Linked DNA regions of Homo sapiens: region 2 is linked to region 1. The links are contacts of gene promoters, found by promoter capture Hi-C in human tissues and cell types (Jung and others, 2019). All regions are on one chromosome and are shown on one strand. The core of a region is centred on a gene start or on the middle of the fragment in contact, and the rest is flanking DNA. Distances in the headings are between cores, read along the strand shown.

Evidence for each region. The method cuts DNA at HindIII sites, captures the fragments that hold promoters and counts their contacts. A contact is called where the count stands out against the background at its distance.
Region 2: a fragment that was not itself captured here is called in contact with the fragment with the promoter of FAP in region 1 in 1 of the 25 tissues and cell types used here (IMR-90 fibroblasts).

What each region holds. Positions count from the first base shown.
Region 1 is chr2:162,241,067-162,246,797 of GRCh38, forward strand. It overlaps FAP (fibroblast activation protein alpha), which reads right to left and starts at 2,379. Exons shown (of 26, transcript NM_004460.5): 1 at 2,256-2,379; 2 at 1,842-1,926. The coding sequence starts at 2,261. It overlaps LOC105373724 (a long non-coding RNA gene), which reads left to right and starts at 5,051. Exons shown (of 4, transcript XR_923544.3): 1 at 5,051-5,105. The HindIII fragment of the contact is 19,367 bases long and covers 1,792-5,731 here.
Region 2 is chr2:162,089,431-162,095,161 of GRCh38, forward strand. It overlaps the pseudogene EIF3EP2. Among named protein-coding and RNA genes, the nearest start is that of DPP4-DT, 17 kb to the left of the region's middle. RefSeq lists an enhancer at 3,294-4,493. The HindIII fragment of the contact is 6,107 bases long and covers 1-5,731 here.

The DNA of each region.
Region 1 (5,731 bases), core at 1,129-3,628:
GAAGTTATTCAGCAAATTTAGAAGAGAAAGAGAATGATATAATGAACCAAAAAACAACAGTTCTCACCTTATTTATGATTTTTCTATTTCTGAATGAGTACTCAAATTTCACTGAGTACTTGAGTTTAATTTGATTATTTCACCCTATCAAGAAATCACTTTATTCTTAGAATTTTCCTGTTAGTTGAAAATAGAATTGTATTATAAATTACATAGGACTTTTATACTATATATAGTTTACGACGTATATTTATATGTAAGCTATACATAACTAAACTTGGAAAGAGGGTAGGGATTGAGATTATATGTGATCACACAAATATCTGTGTATGTGTATCTCTATACATCATTTGTAAATATGTAAATATAATGCATTTCTTATTAGAAATTATAGCTTGAATTCCATAGTGAAATTCATCCTTCCCTATGGACATGGAGGCAAGTGCCCTATAAAATTAACAAACTTTTGTTCCAAGAACATTTATTTCTGAGGGTGCAGAGTATCAATTTCAAGGTTGAGTTTCTTTAAAAATCAGGAGCTAATTTTTAATGAATTAACATTCAAAGGATCTATATGACCTAATCCACTACCTGACAATTGCTGGTATGAGGGAAATGTGGCCCCAAGACCACTGAGTTCAGAGATGAGTCTGAAAACAATTTTAACATGAAAATTTATGAAAGATATGTACACACACTACATACCTCTCAACAGCCTAAGAAGAATCTTGTGCTGGCAGAGAGCAGAAACAAAGACTGAAATTAACACTGAAGATATCAGCTGACTTCATCTTATGGGTTAACCTATTCTATTTTGTAATTCTGTGAAAATCTCATGATTATTTTTAATTTTCGAAAACATTTTTCTATGTTCTTTTTAATAGCAACAGTCCAGTCATTCAGGACTCATACATTCTTTAGCTGAAGTTATTTTATTGATCTTCATTTACTATCAGTTAACTTTTAACCAAGATATTTCCCACATTTGTTATCATAAACTTTTAGTATTTATTAGTACAAATTTTTCCCCTTTCCTAGACACAAAGACATAAGACCTGTTATTACTGGATTTTTTTTCCATTTCAGAAGCTTGAGTTTCTCTTCATAAATATTTTCATAAAAAGCTATTTCCCTAATATCACTAGATTATCTATCAACATAGTCCTACTTTATATTTAAACTAGCTCTGATATCAGCCCATAGTACCTTCCAATTTTTAGCAAAGTGAGATCAGTGTCAATCTAAGCCTTTTTTGTAAAAGGATCCAATTTATGACTGATCAAAATGCTTGCTTAACAATGTTTGGTTTTCTAATTTGATGTGCAGTGCTACTACATCTAAAACAACAACTTTGCTTTTTCTATACAGCTATTCCTGAGATCTGTATTCTCAACTTCCTCCCTAAATTTTTGGAAAGACTATTTAGTAATAAAAAAAGTCCATAGATTCTGTTTTAACTTTTCCATTCTTACTCATTTTTACTTTCCACGAGACAAACCTAATAATGAAAAGCAATGTTAGTTAAAAATGTTGTTTCTAAAGGCCTGTCAAAGCTTGTATTTAGCATATATTTTTGGGGGTTGTGGGGGTGATGCAGCATAGTTCTTAGGTTTTTCTATTGCTGAAATAACACTGTAAATCTCTTCCTACCCATGCCTTAAATTCCTCAGTATTTCTGGTCTTGCACAACAACATATCTGTGAGCTTATATGTCTTCTTAGAAATAACAGACTTACTTTGGAACATAAGCACTTAGGAAATGTTCAACCACTTGTGATCTTGCATTAGTACATTTTCCAAGCTATTCTAGGCAGATAGAGCAAATCAGAGAAAGTTCTTACCTCTTGAAGGGCGTAAGACAATGCACATCACCAATAAGGCAAGCACAGCAGAGGTGGCAACTCCAAATACGATTTTTACCCAAGTCTACATAAAATAAAGAGAATTAGGCATACACACAGTTCCTGCTAAATAGTAGAAATGGCAAGATTTTGTTTACACCTAAATCCTTTTTCTCTCGCCCCACAAAGCTTTTGATTGTTTTCCACTGATCCGGCTATAATTGCTGGAATTCTTCCAGCTCTGCAAGGACAAATGTTTCTACAGTATATTTAGAACAATTTTCCAATCCCAACCCATTGAGGAAGTAAATACTTATGTACAAATCTTCACCTTCTAAACAATAGAAAACTCTGATCACGTTCAATCCAGCCAACCCTAATTTTTTAAGAATACTTGAGGTTGCTTATACTAACCTTCATTTTTCCAGATGTTTTTGAAAGTTAGCTAATTCTGTCTTCAGAGCGTGGGTCACTGGATCTGTGAAAACCGTTGAAAAGGACCAAGTCTGTCTTTGTAGTTGGAAGCTGAAGCCAGGACAAGGTTTTTTTCTTTCCACGGACTTTTGAATACCGTGCCAAGTTTCAAAAGATTTCTGTAAAATTAGAAACAGATTTTGGGGGCGTTCTTGGCCCTCAAATGAACTGTGAGTGACTCAAGGGAAGTTTTATAGCCTTCTCATCCTTGTAACTACACCAACATCTGCTTACGTTGACATACAGAGGTTTTTATTTTTTCTTTTTTACCAGTTCAGGTTTATGTTGCATTTTCTTCTAGAATTCACTGAAGGATCACTTTAGCAAGTCATTGGGTTTTGCATAACATTTTTATTTGCCACTAAAAGATGAATTTAAAATAATGAAACTTGCAGGTCTGTACATTAAACATATATCTACTTTTTAACAGAGGAAGAACATTGAAGCCACATAAGATTTTGTGAGAAATGTGCCATATAACTGCACTTTTTTTTCCTCTGGAAGATTATGAGGTATTGCAGACAGAAATGTTTTTCTTTCAGCACAATTTCTTTGTCCATATAGCACCATATGCACTTTCAGTAAATACAGAAGTTTAAAAATTCAACTGTCTAAACCCACGGCTGCTTTACTTTAAAGAAATAAAATGCCATCTGGTGAAATTTAGTATGGGTTAGGTGTGTATGCACAGGCTAGAAAGATGGAAAGATCAGTAAGAATAATTTACCAGCAGACCTTTGGAAGAATGGAAATGGCTTTACAAGAGTGGTATTTTTGCTTTCCTCTCAGAATATCTTCTGAGAGAGGAGAACATCTAGTAATTATAAAGATTTAAAAATAAATAAAAAAGCATCTGAAAAGAAAAGTAAATCTTATGTATAATTTCATTTTGGCTAAATCTACATAATTCCAAAGAAATTGGTCATCTTGACAGATTAGTAAAATGGTTGACTGAATTAAAAAAAATACACATACAACAGTTTCTTGGAGTGTTCTGTCTGTTTTAATGCAATTCACTTGGATAGATTTTGTGGTTCCACGTAAACACAGTTGTTAAATCTACTGTGTCCTTAATTTTTCCACTAATGGTTTTCTTTTTTCGAAGTTTATAATGTTCCCAACCTGATTAAAACACTTCATGGCAACCTTTCTTGGATTGTACATGAAAGGTAATGGGGAAATGTTACCAAAACATGTTGCTGTTTGCCTTAGTCAACTTCTCTGGCTACCACGGGACACTTTCTCCAGCAAAGAGCAGGACAGTGGCTTGTGAACTTCCTTTCAGACATTCTCCAGACATCCCTCCCTGAATTCCAGCCTTATGAAAATTCTGTTGAGGAAAATGAGTCATTAGGCACTTACTGGCAGAGAACTGTATTCCTGGTGGCTGGGGCTGGGCCCTCTCCTTTGCTGTTGGTGGAGTCACCTCTTTACAAAATGAAGTAATCATTAAGAGTAATATCCAAGGTGTGCTATACACTTGTAGGTATCTCCAAGTGATTGTGAAATCCTCAGATCTCAGATAAAAGCCAGCAGCCAGGTCCTGAATGAACTGTTTCTGTGTAAGTCCTCTCAGATTGATTGTCTTCTCTGGAACACACCGTGTTCTCAGAAGTTCTGCCCTAGCCTGCCAAAGCCCCAGAGTACACAGGCACTTTTTAGTGGGTGATTTCCAAGACTTTACATTGTAGAGAGAAACTATAATAAATTATTAGGGTGTAATTAAAAGACCATGCTGAGAGCATGTTAGCTCTAGCAATTAAGAATGCACTGACATGTGACTGGTCTGAGCACCACTTAGGATTCTATGACTGTGTGTGGGTGTCCACAAGATACTCATTTAATAGGCTCTATGAAGAGGTTGGAGTGCTTTAAGATACACTTAAGTTGCCACTATTAGTAAGGGTGGGAAATGATGAGAGTGAAACAATGTCTGTTTAAGTTTTTTTGTTTTTTCCTTGGAAGGTTGGGTGAGTCAAGCTGTAACTTCTGGAAAATTCTTACTAGTTTGAACTGTTTTAAGAAAAATGAGACTGACTGCAGAAATAAAGATGTCGAGTTTTTCCATCTGAATTCATGGTTTAGGGAGGTATTGTTTTTATAAAGTCACACATGTTCATTCGTTTGAGATAATGTGAATGTATTCTAATTTTCATCCAGACAAGAACTCTCATAAAATTTGGATTTTTAAAATATTGTAATATCTTTATTAGCTTTTTTTAATTTTGGAATCAAAATGAAAATACTTTTGTCAACTTTTAAAAAACATTTACGAAACTGACTCTTATTCCTACTTTATACAATTAGTTAACACCCCATCAACATTTTTGTTGAGAAAACAAAAATGAATCAGACACAGTCTGTGCCCTTAAGGAACTTACATTCTAGTATAAGTATGGCAGGTATGTTCTTAATGTTCTTACATACTTGTTTCCTTTTGCTTCCTAAAGCTCTTGTTCAGAAATAGCCTGAAGCTGAGTTTGTGTTCTGTAGAAAGAGTGTTCTCACTGGTTGGTGATTTCTTCATGGACCTGGGAAGAGGACTGGAAAGGGCACATACCACATGCATGTCATCCTTAGTTCAACCTTTGTTAGTTCTAACCTTTGTTAGTACTGAGACTTTTCTCAGAAAGCAACTCTGGGTCTATTAAAATGCTGCAAAACCAGAAAGGATGATGATTTGTCATGTAAAAATGTAAGGGCAGCAATTAGGAGAGTAGAGGCTCATCAACTGAGTTCTTTCCAGAGAGGGACCTTGTAAGGCTGACTTTGGAATATGACTGCATTCTGGTAAGCCCACTGGATAAGTGAGCTATAACATAAATCCTTAGGTTATAAGGAGGAGAGCTTACTAGAACTATTTATTAGTAGCCAATGTTTACCTGCCAAAAATGATTTTAATTTATATGTTTTCCCAGAAAACACATCCAGCTATGTATTTCTAGAGTCTGAAGGTAAGACCATGCTGAGAGCATAAGGATGTTATCTTTTTATTTTATGGTGGGGAGATGAAAGAGAGATGTGTTTATTAACCAAAAGCCATGACAAATTATTTAAGGACAAGTTACAAGGGGAATAAGGATACAAGTGCAGTAAACATAAGCCTGATTTTATACTCTTTAAAGTAAAAATTTGCTTCTAGAGAGCCTAACAGCTCCTAACATCCTACCCATTTGATTCCTCAGATTCAATAAACATTTATTGTTTACTGTTATCTACAAAGTGATTTTAATGCATTATTTCATCTGATCCATACCAAAACTCATTTTGATGATTAGGAAACAGCCTAGAAAAACTGGATAACTTGCCCAAGATTTTAACAGGACCCAGTGTTACCACCTTACATTGCTTCTTTGTGATACTTCCTAAAGTTTTATTCCAAAGTGATAAATTTTTTTTAAAATTATAATTGACAT
Region 2 (5,731 bases), core at 1,515-4,014, 150 kb before region 1:
CAATTGGACTCTGCCCCACAACCTCTGCTGCAATCAGCCCAGAATAGTCAGGATTGTAAACTTTGCTTCTAACTCAGGACCAGAAAAAGATTTCTATCCTCCCCACACCAATCTCGTCAGATGTCCTGCTTTTAATTAGCCTACCTCCTGTTTCTTATGCCAACAGGCTTTGATCAGAGCACACCTGAAGCCTTTCCTGTTTTCTCTATAAATCTTTCCCCCTGCCCTTCCTGCCTTCGAATCTCTGCTAAGTGATGGTGACTGACTCCCTTGCTACAGTAAACCTTGAAAAAATAATCCTGTTTGTTCTCATTTGGGTGGTTTTCATTTATTTCCACAATGCGAAATGGGGATGCAGCCATGGACGATCTTACACATTTAAGACACCATTGATAATAATTGTTCCACTCCGGTGTTTTGGCAACAAACATGTCTCATTCATCGGTCTCTGTTGTTTTCAACCACCCCTACAGCTGTGTTACCATTATTTATCTCACCTTTTTCAGCCACACTATTTTAATAATTCAGATGATGTGTCTCTGCTATTTGACTACAGTAGCCATAATAGTCAAAGATGCTCGGAAATGCAGGAAGATGGTAAAAGACCTAGCCAATGTCTTTCAAAAGAAATCCTACACATAAAAACCCTGTTACTGAGCTGGTTGAAAGCTTTTACTTTGATGGGGACCAGAAAAAACACCCATGCTCCAATGTCTACTTTTTGAGGATTTCATTAGAAATATTTGTATATTTATATTTAAGACTCTCTGATATATCCACCGGAGTATTAGCATTAGTATGTTGGCAGATACACTAAAAGTGATCTCAGGAGAAGCTGAAGGATGACTCATACTTATTGAGAAGTTACTAAACCAGGAAATGTCCTGGGAATATCAATTTGAACAAATAAGGAACATCTCCAGGATTACAGTTTACAAACCAGTTTACAGTTGTTAATCCACCTGAGCTTTCTAGCCAAACAACACAAGACTAAGTCTGAGATAATTAGGCTTTACTGCCCCCAACCCCAACCCCATGTAAGCATTTTCCAGAGGAAGCTGAGGGAGGAGATTAGAATTCCTGGAGGCTAATCCACTGGGCTATGGATCTGATGTTCAGAGTGTAGTGGTCCTCCTGGCTCCATGCTGTAAGTGCCCTGTTTCCCTCCTAGGCCTTGTCACCTCTTTTTCAATGTCTCTTCTATGCCAAGAATCCCCTTCTGTAGTATTTCCTTCCAAACAGTCCCCCTCCAAAGGCCCAACCTCTTCCTCCCTTTCTCTGCTATCAAATTTCATCTATTCTAACCTATTTCATTTTTTTAAGATTCCATATATAAGTGACAGCATGCAATATATAGAGATAGAGACTAAAACAGTGGTGACCAGGTTTGGGGATGGGGAGAAAATAGGGAGATGCAGGTCAAAGGACATAAAGTAGCAAATGTAGGGTGAACAAGTTGAAAGATTTAATATACAACCTGAGGCCGCTAGTTAATACTGGTGTATTGCATTCAGGATTTTTGCTGAAGGATTAAATATAGCTGCTTTTGCCATGATGGGGACTGGTAACTATGTAAGATGAAAGGATATGTTAATTTGTTCTGCTAGAGTAACCATTTCACTATATGTATGTATCTCATAATATATTGTATACCTTTTATATACATAAAATTTATTAAGAAAGAAAACCTTCGTCTATTCTGATATACAGACTTGATGGAGGTTGATAGGATTGACATATGCATTTTATCAGGACTTTTGAGGCTGAGAAGCCCTTCCCGATTCTCAAAAGTTTTCCCAAACGTGTGCCCTGCTCCCATCTCCTTCACTGCCTTGAGCATATTTTATTAAAACAATCTGTTAAGCTTCTGTCTCTCTGACCTCGCTTTGAGTGTGGCAGCCATGCTCTATTGTTTGTATTTCTAGAAACTACACCAGCTCTGGGATAGAGTAAACTCAGCCATGTGCCAAAGCTGGCAACATGGAGACAGCTGCTTCTTGCAGCCATTCACCAGGCCACCTGCAAGGCCGTAGGGAGAAGACAAAGGAGCGAAGACTTTACGGTTAGACAAGCCTGGGTCTGCAATCCAATTATATGCCCTTGGCTGTTTTTTAAAAACCTTTATTATGTGCCCTTGGCTGTTTTTTAAAAACCTTCTTCCCAGAGTTGCAGAGATTTAATGAGATAAGAACTGAGTCATCTCAGTTACTCCCAAGCCTTCAAATGTATCTCTATGCTGATGGTTTCTGCTTGTATTTCTCTAGCTGGGATCTCTCTTCTGGAGTCTGAGCCTCCGGAAGGTCCCCACCTGGATGACTCATAGGCCTATTAAATCTAAATTAGCCAGAGAGGGTTAATAATTACCAACACTACTCCCCTACCCACTAGTCACCAAATTAGGTCCTTCTGCATCATGCTCTCCCTCCATGAGAGTATCGCCACCACATGGCCCAAGCCGGAAACCCAGGAGTCCTCCTTGATACCTGCTCACTCCTTATCCCACACACAGACCTCTCTAATCTCCCGTTTCATTGTCCACATCTCTCTATGGTCTCTCTTCCACCTTTGCTCAGGCCTTCCTTTCTTCCAGACCAGGTCATCGCCCAGCCCATCTAACTGGCCTCTCCTTTTGTCATTTCTTTCCATGGCAGCGTTTATTACTTTCCTGCTTAAAACTAGTGGCTTCCCCTGCTGCAGGATCAAATCCAAATCCCTTATCCTGTTCTGGTCTCTGCTTAGCCTTCCTTCTCATGGCTCCTCCCCAACATCCCGCCACCTACACACTAAGCTACATGCATTCATTTCTAAGAATTGAAATGCAATCTCTGTTTTGCTCTCTCTTTTGCTTTTGAAACTTCAAACATAACGTTTCCTCCACCTGGAGTTCATTCCCTTTGTTTTTCATTTGGCTAAGGTCCTAGTCAATGATCGCAACTCCAGTGCCATCTCATCCAAGAAGCTTTGCCCACCCACTGCCCTAGCAAGGTGCATGGCTTCTGTGCTCTCAAACAGACTTGTGCCTCACTGCTTTTTAACAAAGCACTCATCACTCTGTAATGCAATTATCTAATGTAATAATTGCTAAGATTCATGGACCCCGTGCTAGGTGCTGGACATTCAGGTAAGCTCTTTACTTGTAATAGTTCATTTAGTCCTCATAACAGCCCCATGCAGTAGGTACCTTTATCATCCCTGCTTTGTAGATGAGGAAATTGAGGTGCAGAGGGGTACATACTCTTCTCAGTATTACACAGCAAGTATTTGAACCCATGAGGCCTGACTCCAGAGCCCTATAATTATCTACTATTATCCAGTAATATTCAAGGATTTTGTCTCTGTTGTTCACTGATATACTCCTAGGGCCTACACTAATATCTGGCACAATAATAATTGCTTATTAAGTGTTTACTGACTCACTGAGTGAATAAATGCTGATTCATTGTGTCATTTCCTTCCTGATGGGCAGGGATTAGGCTTTATTCCATTTATTTCTAGCAGCTAGCTTGGACCCTGGACATATGAAAATTGTTAAGTTTGTTTCTCTGCATAGGGTCTTTGCTACTCTGTGAGATCCATGATTCTGTTTTGCCTTTGTGGTCTTCTGAGACCCTGTATTCACCCTGCCACACCACAGCACACTTCGCTGCGTGTCAATTTTTAGTGCATAGAAAAAAATCTGGTCAGCTGCTGCTTGACAGCTGGAAAAATAGAGCTGTACCTGAGCCAGTTTTGTACCTCAGAAAAGCAAGGGGGAGAGTCTCCTGCCTCACGCGGTGTGTGGGTGGAGGGCTGAATCATCAAGTTCTTTGAGTTCCTTGGGAAAAGATAACTCAAAGGAATATTACACAACATGGAGAAATAGGAGGAAAATAAGCAGAGACACAAAAATGACTCAAGTGTTGAAAAATATGATCCACGCAACTAAAAATACATTGCAACTGAGTTTGAAGAGGAAAAGACTGGGTGTCAACATTCCAGTGGCCCAAATGGCTGTGCATGAATGGGCTTTGGTTCGAAGGATGGTGAGCAGATGGTCACCGGCCTCACAGAGAAGAAGGTTGTGCAACAGGGCCTGGAGGCCCTCTGAAGATCTGAGACAAGGGGAAGAGGACAACTTTACCAGGGACAAGACAGCCTGAGCTTCAGCAAAACACTATAAAAGAGTATCCTTGGTTCCATATGACCCAGGCAGAGGGAGGAGTGATGGTAAATCCTGTCGGATTGGTGTATTATGCATTTTTCTTTTCTAAATGAGCACTTAAAATTCCCTGTAGATTAAAAAATTCTGTTGTAGATTTTTTCTAGAAACTGAAAACTTTGGGTGGGAAGGGTGGTTCAGGCTTTCATGGACATGCAAACAATTTTCATGTTCCATTCTCTGGCTTCTCTGGTAACTGACATTTGAGAGACATGTTGGTGTAGTAGATGGAACATGGACTTGAGGCCCCTACTGTTCTGTAACCTAGGGAAAGTTGCTGCTTCAGACTCTGCCTCAGTGTCTTTTTTGAGCAACACTTTGCAAATAACATTGTAAATACTAAAGAGGTATAGAGAATATCTAAAACACTAGTTCAAGGGCACATGATATGCTTAATGAGTGAGAATGAAGTTGTCATTAATATAATTCTTTACCAGCTTTATTTTCTTAATTTCTGAAGTATTGCCCTATCATAAAAAGATTAAAGTAGATCCCAAAATCAGAAGAGTTCTTGATTAGAATGAAGGACCCGAATTGGTTTTCCAGATGGACTCACTTGTTAAAAGGGGATTGTGACAAGTATTTATTCAACAGTTTGTTCTACAGCCGGTGTTTGGGCTATTGGAAAGGAGGTGCTATATAAGTGTATTGTAATAATGAATGCCCTTAGGGAAGAGGGGAATTGTGTAAGGAGATGTATTCTGTAATTCTTTCACGTATATTCATCTTTTCTGTCCAAGTAGAATATACACCCTTTATGGGCAAGGACTACCTCGTCTAATTTGTATTTATAAACTTTCTTTTTTCTTTCTCAGGGTTTTCAAGGACTGAGAATGCACATATGGATAGAACAAATCTAGAAATTCAAGCTACTTCTATTGCTAAACAAGTATAGAGTTTCATATAAATATAATTCATAAAAGGTATAAACGGCAAGAGTTTCTACCCAAAGATTTTGTGAAACACCTGGCATTCTAGCTACAGCAGCAAATTATGGCATCCCTTAGCCCCTCAGAGACCTCTGTCCTCAGCAGATGTGACCGCCTTCTTGGATCTCAGCAGTGCAAGGGTTCAGTGTGCCAGCATCTCTACATCTGAGGTCTTGCTGTCTTCTGCAGGCCTTCCAGCTGCTTTGAGAGAGAAGTGACCAAAGTATTCTCACTTTTGAAGGGAGTGAAATAAAACCTGGACAAACCAGGTTCTCAAATTAAAATTCATGGATCTTCCTATTTTCCCAAGAAGAGCCTGTTTTTTTTCGTATACTCCATTGAAGCCATTGCTGGTGGACAATTTTCATAGCATTTTCTTCTCTTTTGTTTTGAAAGGCATTGATTAGTAAGTAGGACATTTCTGTTCAGCAATTGCCCTTTGAAGTTTTATTCAAACACAGAATTTACTGTAAAACAGACCAGTCTTTATTCTTTCTTTTAGTGAAAATTATAAACTCTTTTTATATATATATATATATATATATATTTTTATTATACTTTAAGTTCTAGGGTACATGTGCATAACGTGCAGGTTTGTTACATA